2 separate regions of the Homo sapiens genome follow, and region 2 is linked to region 1. The links are contacts of gene promoters, found by promoter capture Hi-C in blood cells and fetal thymus (Javierre and others, 2016). All regions are on one chromosome and are shown on one strand. Each heading gives the region's core, a stretch centred on a gene start or on the middle of the fragment in contact. The rest is flanking DNA. Distances are from core to core; before and after follow the strand shown. Region 1 holds the start of OR6K2 (olfactory receptor family 6 subfamily K member 2). Region 2 holds the start of MNDA (myeloid cell nuclear differentiation antigen).

Region 1 (3,685 bases), core at 911-3,410:
CATTTTTCGTGTCACTTGAAGAATATTAAAAATACATGACTTAAACTCAGTGATACTTCTTGCATTTCTTTTTCCCTCTGTCCTCTTGTTCTTCAACCAAGTATCCCTTAAAGCCTTTCTCTTACCCAGACCCCCTGCACCCACAATCAACAGGTTTTCTCTGATTTTTCTTCTCTTCTGTATCCCAGACTTTTATTTGATAGCATTAACCCTTTTTATAAGATCTCTCCTTAACTTGTCTTTCCATTTTATTTTAAAATATCATAAGATTTAGGAGTAAAAGTAATGAAAGGATTGTGGCACAAAAGTGGGGAAATCACACTGACAGCTATAGGATTTGTGTTGGCAGGCTAGAGAAGGGTAAAAATTTATTAACATTTGCACAGTAATAAGCTTTATCCTATCCCAGCTGAATCATGAGCCCTGGAGAAAAATCGCTTTTTATAAAGCATGTATGACATGAAGACTCAGCAAGAGAAAGAAGCGTCAATGAGGTAGGATAAAAAAGAGTTTGGAATCCTAAAAGCCAAAGAAGAGAGCTTGAAAGAGTTGTTGCCTAACACAATTGGTCGATTGTCTAAAACAATCAGAATGCAGCATGGCGGTATGTTGGTTTATTCATTCAACAGATCATTTTTATGTTTATTACTTAATATGTACAATGCATTTGATCACAGTGAATGCAACATCTAGGTTTTTTATGTATCATGAAAAAACTGATTATTTAATGAGTAACAATTAAATTGCTTATTGATCAATACTTGGATACTCAATTTAAAAATTTGAGTCATTCTTCAACTATAGAAGCTAGAGGCACCATGGATAAAACTTAGTCTTATGAAGGATACTTTTTAAATTACCAGGTCTTACAGACAAATATTTTAATTGCTTTAAAATTAAAGTAAATGTTTATGCAGAACATTTCAACAAAATGAATTTACTTTGAATAACTTGAGTGGCAGAAACTGTAATTAATAAAGTCAGATTGAAAAATATGTCTAATTGAGTAATGATTAAATAGAAGTTATTGACGTTAGCTATTGCTGAATTTGTTTCCTTTTGTTTGGTTTGGTTTGGTTTGGTTTGGTGAGCTTTGGGAGACCAGTTTGAATAGAAGGTTGATAGGAAAAGACAGATTGCTGAGAGCTGAAGGTGAAGAGGAACCAGCAACTATACAGAATCTCAACTAAAATATCTTACTTGAGGTCCCTGGTCTTACGGAAAAAAATATCTTAGCTTGACCTATGTGCTTTTTTATAGCTTCTTTTATTTCTTTATTCCTCAGGCTATAGATAATGGGGTTGAAGAAGGGAGACAAAACTGCAAAGGCCAGAGCAATGGCTATATCCCAGAACAAAGAGTAGGTGGCAGAGAAGCGTAGGTACATGAGAGTCACACTGCCAAAGAAGAGCGAAAAGACAATGAAGTGAGAGACACACGTGGAAAATGCTGTGCGGCGGCCTCCAGCTGAATGAATACGTAGAATTACAGCCACAATACCATCGTAGGACATGAAGATGAGCATCACAGCTGTAATAATCTCCACTGCATGAATGACATCCACTACCTGAATCATGACGATGGCTCGTGTGTCTGTGCAGGCCAGACGCAGCACTGGGAGGAAGTCACAGAAGATATGTTCAAGGTGATTCGAACCACAAAATGGCAGTGTAGAGATCCAGGCAATCTCAGGAAGGGGTGTGATAAAGCCACAAACACAGCAACTTAAAGTCAGTTGGGTACATAGCTTGGGGGTCATGATAGAGGGATAATGAAGAGGGCTGCATATGGCCAGGTAGTGGTCAAAGGCCATAACTGTCAAGAGACACACCTCACAGATGCCGGTGGAATGGAAGAAATACATCTGCAGGAGACAACCATTGAAGGAAATGCTCCTCTCACTAAGCAGGCTAGACAGCATCTTTGGGATTGTGGCTGTGGTATACCAAATCTCCAGGAAAGAAAGAGCACTGATAAAAGTATACATGGGAGTGTGGAGGTGAGTATTCAACTGGACCACTGTGATGATGACCAGGTTTCCAACAACAATGAAAGCATAGATGAAGAGCAGTGGAACAAAGCAGACAACAGACTTAACCCAGGAATAAGGGAAAGCGGAGAAGATAAACTCCTGAATGGTGGTTCGATTGGGGCTCTCCATCTCCAAGTTGAAAGTGAGAGTTTCAATTTCCAGTGCACTCAAGCCTTCTAGGAGGCATCTACTATTGGATAAAGGAATACACTTACAAGAAGCCAGCGTCTGAATAGAGCCCTGTAATGGGGATAGAGAGGAAGACAAGGAAGAAGGACATGGTCCATATTCTATAGTTGCTTACGACTTAAGTTGTAGTGTGGAAAAAATCCAGTCAGAAAGCACAGTCAATATTTTGGATGTGAGATTCTCAGATATATTAACATGCATCAGAATCACCTGGAGGGCTTGTTAAAACTCATATTGCTGGTCCTCATACTGAGAGTTCGGTCCTAATCTGTAGTTCTGAGGTAGGACCCAAGAATTTTCATTTCTAACAAATTTTCAGGCAATGGTGGTCCTGCTGGTCAGGGGACTATATTTTAAAACAACTTTGTTTAGGCGAATATAGAATTAGACAGAGCATTGAAGGAATAATCAATAATTAAGAGGACGTTCTTTTCGATATTTAAATCTTATTGATTCCCTAATAATCTCCCCACATTGTTCCATATATTTTTTCTTCAAGCTCCCAGTTTATTGGATTCTTGGCATATGATTTGATTGGCATATTTTTATAATAAAGACAAAACCATTACTGGTGAATTCTTTCAACCCTCTTTCTCTAATAACTCTTCCTCTCTTCATATGTATATTCTTAACCATAATTCAGAGAATATTTGGAGAAGAAAAGCCATATAAATAATCATAAGTTATTTTACCTTGTTTTATAAGATAGTCTATTCTATCTCCTTCCTTTCCTTCTCTTCTACGTCTTCTTGGTAAGGAGATCTTAAAGGGGTTTTGTACCAGAAGCCTTTGGTCAAATGTAGTAACTTATGAAAACTAACTATATTAATAAATAAATGCTTAATATAGTTGTACACTTGCTCTGGTACAATTGAATGGTGGTAGTTAGAAGGAAGGGCAGAGCTGCAGTGCCCTGTAGAATACAATTTAAACTACACACATTATAGGAAATTGTCCTATTAATTTATTCTCTTTTCAGAATGTTTTGTTTTACTTTATTTGTCTCTTCTGCAATCAAACATGCACATTTCTTCTTATCTTGGGAGAAAATACTGTTTCTATTCAGGTTATTTCCCTCCTTTGTAACAACTGCATTATTTTTCCAATGTGTAAAAGGTATTTATTCTATTCATTCTTCTTTGAATCTCTGAATAATGTATCCACCCTCAACTTCCCATATCTCTTTTCTTAAGGTATACTAGCGACTTTCTCATTGAAATTTAATGGCCTCCCTCTGTCTTCATTGCCACTAACTTCCAAAGGTCAATTGCCCAATGTTTGAAATTCCTTTTTTTGCCTATTTGACACCACACTATCCTGGTTTTCCTCACTGATTATTCAATTTTTTATATCCCAAGTGTAAACATAACCGCAAATTCTGTGATCATTTTCTCTTTTCTCTATATTTCCTTTCACACAGAAGAATCTATTGTTTCAAGATCTTATTTATTCAAGATTATTTAT
Region 2 (3,645 bases), core at 555-3,054, 130 kb after region 1:
TCAGGGCAGAAAGCTGTCCTGAAACATGGTAACTCCTGTCGTGAGCTCTTTTGGTTCCCAAACACTGAAGTGGGGCACCTGATAAGGTTTCCTTGTGTTCCTCTTTACCCTTTACCTTAAGACCTGCTCGAAGCATCAGCATAAGAGAGAAACTGAAACAATGAACACCCACATGTGTTAGTGGCTGTCATTCTAGATCCTCTTGGTTTTTTCTGATTTACCCTGCTTTAGTGGGGTTTAGACAGTTTCCAAATCCAAACTTTAACTCTCTCTATGCTGCTGGTTTGGATTAAGACAATCAGCTTTATTCTTCTCTGTAGATGGCCTTGGATCATTTTCCCCTATTAGCTGTTTTGGGATCCTTTTCCAGTCATGACCACATTTTGCTTACAGATCAGCTAGTTGGTAACCACAGCACTGTCTGCTAACTGATACCATTCATTTGACAATTCAGAGTTATGATACTTTGTAGTGCACCCACTGTTCTTCACAGGAAAAAAAAATTGCAGTACAAAGGGTTTATCAGGCCCCCTATCATTCCAGAGTTTCAGTGCTGTTCCAGAATGTTCAAGGTTTCAGTCATGATATGAACCAACTATCCATAAATAATGCAAAAAGCATGAGTAATCATGAATTTAATAATCAAGGTAAGGCAGCTCAGTTATTATACTCAAGAGAGCAACTAGTATGAAACTCTTTCAAATTATTTGAATAAGGATTTACATATTCATAATGACTTTCTGCCTCTGTCAAGCTCCAGGTGTATCAGTTATTAATAACTGGGTGAATATGTAGGTACTATTTAAACAAAAACAATTTCACAGTAGACCCACCCCTATCCAAGAGATGAAGTCAAGTTCTGGTAGCAATAGACATCTCTACCAAGATCTCCTGCTCCTGCCACTCTGTGAACAGGAAAGGAGGGAGAAACTTTGGTGTTTTGCCTTTCCCAATTTATATTAAGATCCTTATTCAAGCGGCTACCGGTTTCTAATGACCTATATGTAAGTTAGCTTTATAAGAAAGTTCTGAGTTTGAAACTCCTTTCAGCAAGTATTTGTAAGTCAAAAAAGCGAAGAAGAGGCACCATTTACTGTCATTTCTCCTTGTGACTGAGATTACTTACTACAAAGAGGAACTGACCACTTTCTCTGACATCTGAAATAGAAAGCTACAAAGGCTGATAGGCGTGGCTTCAAAATTGTTTCATGATTACATAACTTCTTTCTAGTTAGGAATTAGGACAGTGTAAGAAGGCCATCTACAATCAAGATTGAGAGTGGCTCTAACAAGTGCCATTTTTCCTTGTTAGCTTTCATTTCTCAGCCCTTTACAAGATTAAAATAGTCTGCAGTTTAATCTCTCCAAAGCTTTACGGACAGTGATTCTGTCCTAAACAAGACAGTGACTCCAGGATTTCTGAAGACTATTGTGGAAGAAGCATCCATTAAGGTGAGATTTCTGGGAAGTTCTTTAGAGAAAGATCTAGGTATCTAGTTGGTAACCACACCATCTCAGTAGAGAATAATTGCCTGAGACCAGAAGTGTTGTTATCAATCATATTCAGAAAACTGAGAACTGAATGCTTTAACTGTCTAGGTAGCAAATGGATATCTTTTATTCTACCACAATTGGGGTATGAACCAAAAAAATGTATTTTGTCTACAGCAGGTTTTAAAAATTAATTCTTGGGTGTCTTTTGGCATAAATTGATATTTAGAGGAGATACTTGGTTTTCTTGGCTGGAGGATGACTTGGTGACTGGGTTTGGGCCTAAGTTAAAAGACAAGACAGTCAGATAAGAAAATTATTATGAAGTAATATTTAGTAAAAAATAAACCAGGATATAAATCTCTATTATATGATTTTATCTCTATTTTAAAAAGCATAGACATGTGCACACATTAATTTCTCAATTTTACAAGCATTTACTCAAAAATAATCTTTACATTTTCATGAATCAGTTTCATTTTATGCTTCATTTTACAACAAGTGTAAGAAGAAATAATTCTCTTTTTCAAATGGTCTATGCTTTACTCAGTCATAGATAACATTTTTTGTGGCAAGGTATAATGAAAAGACAGGGAGAATCAATTATATATTTCCTACTTTGGGATACATTTTGACTTTTTTATGGCTTTGTACATATGAATGTTTTCTAATTACTCCATGAGTACTTGAGAAGAGTTTATAAACGTTGGATTCCAAATTCTATTTAAGTAAGATAAAGTTTCTTAAGTAAGCTTGTTAATTATGTTTGAAAAATCTAAATCTAAATCTAAGCTATTTTTTACCTTGTTCTTTCAGTAACTGAGAGATGTGGTGAAATCTCCAACTCTAATAGTGATTTTGTTAATTTCTCATTGTAGTTCTTTTGATTTCTACCATATATTTTTACATAGAATATGTATATCTAAGTATATATGTTATGTGTGTGTTTAGAGAGAAGAAAAAACTTCTATATGCTACTTTATAAAGTAATAACAGATTATATTTATAATATAATTTAAATTATTATATCTTTTTCCAAGTTGCATACTTTACCATTATGTAGTGAAACTATGTACTGATACTTATTGACTTAAGCCTATTTTAAGCTACACTATTTTTCCTAAAAAGTCTTTCTTTAAGTTAGAGTTTGAAGAATATAACTTTTCCAGCTCTTTCTCAAACTTAAGTGAACTTATGCTTTATTTGTACTTTGTCAACAACATATGACTGGATTTATTTTTAATCCAAATTGAAAATTTTTCCTCCTAGTTGATGAGTTTAGTCCAGATATGCAAATTCTATAAAGGTATATATTTTAACTTGGTTTTGCCATCTTACTTTGTTTCAATTTATAGCACTTATTCTGTGCTTTCTTCTTCTCCTTTCTTGTCAAGTTTCTTATTTTTAAAAAATCTATATTCTCCTTAAAGACAAGCCCCTTAGCAAACTCTCACATCTTCTGGTCCCCCAAACATACAACTTCACCTGTTAAGAGTATGTTCATATAGTTCCTGTTTTCTTTTATTTGACTCTGGCTTTACTTATTTTTAAGATAGTAAAAACACTAATTAAAGTATTTGCTTGATCTTTCTTCCCTTTTGGCCTCCAACATTTCTTAGATTTATTTCTTTTCATAATGAGTAGTTCTTCACAAAGAGCTGTGGGTATGGATATTTTCACTGCCAAGCTTCTGAAAGCTTTGAATATAATAATTGTTTTCTTTTAATTGTGTTAAGAAACATGTAACATAAAATGTGTCATCTTAATCAGCTTCAAGTGTACAGTTCAGTAGTATTAAATACATTCATATTGTTGTGCAACCAACCTCCAGAACGCCTTTGCATCTTGCAAAACTAAAACTCTAACCGTTAACCAACAATTTCACCATTCCCCTTTCCTCCAGAGCTTGGCAAACATCATTCTACCTTCTTTCCCCATAAATTTAAAAACTCTAACTCTTCATATATGTTTAATCATACAGTAAGCGTGTGCTTTTTGTGACTGGCTTTTTTCATTTCATGTTCTCAAAGTTCATTCATGTTGTATTGTATCATGTGTCAGAATATTCTTTCTTCCTAGGGTAGAATAATATTCCATTTCATGTATTTACCATAAAATACGTAAGAAACCATATTTCTTTTTATTCATTCATCC

What was found. Contacts are between HindIII fragments. The CHiCAGO score rates a contact against its expected background, and 5 or more counts as called.
Region 2: a contact is called between a fragment that was not itself captured here and the fragment with the promoter of OR6K2 in region 1, in 1 of 17 cell types (erythroblasts). The highest score is 5.0, in erythroblasts.

The regions. Positions count from the first base shown.
Region 1 is chr1:158,698,492-158,702,176 of GRCh38, forward strand. It overlaps OR6K2 (olfactory receptor family 6 subfamily K member 2), which reads right to left and starts at 2,161. Exons shown (of 1, transcript NM_001005279.3): 1 at 1,187-2,161. The coding sequence starts at 2,161. The coding sequence ends at 1,187. The HindIII fragment of the contact is 9,102 bases long and covers 392-3,685 here.
Region 2 is chr1:158,830,106-158,833,750 of GRCh38, forward strand. It overlaps MNDA (myeloid cell nuclear differentiation antigen), which reads left to right and starts at 1,246. Exons shown (of 7, transcript NM_002432.3): 1 at 1,246-1,452. It also overlaps a transcript of OR6N1 not described here. The HindIII fragment of the contact is 873 bases long and covers 1,369-2,241 here.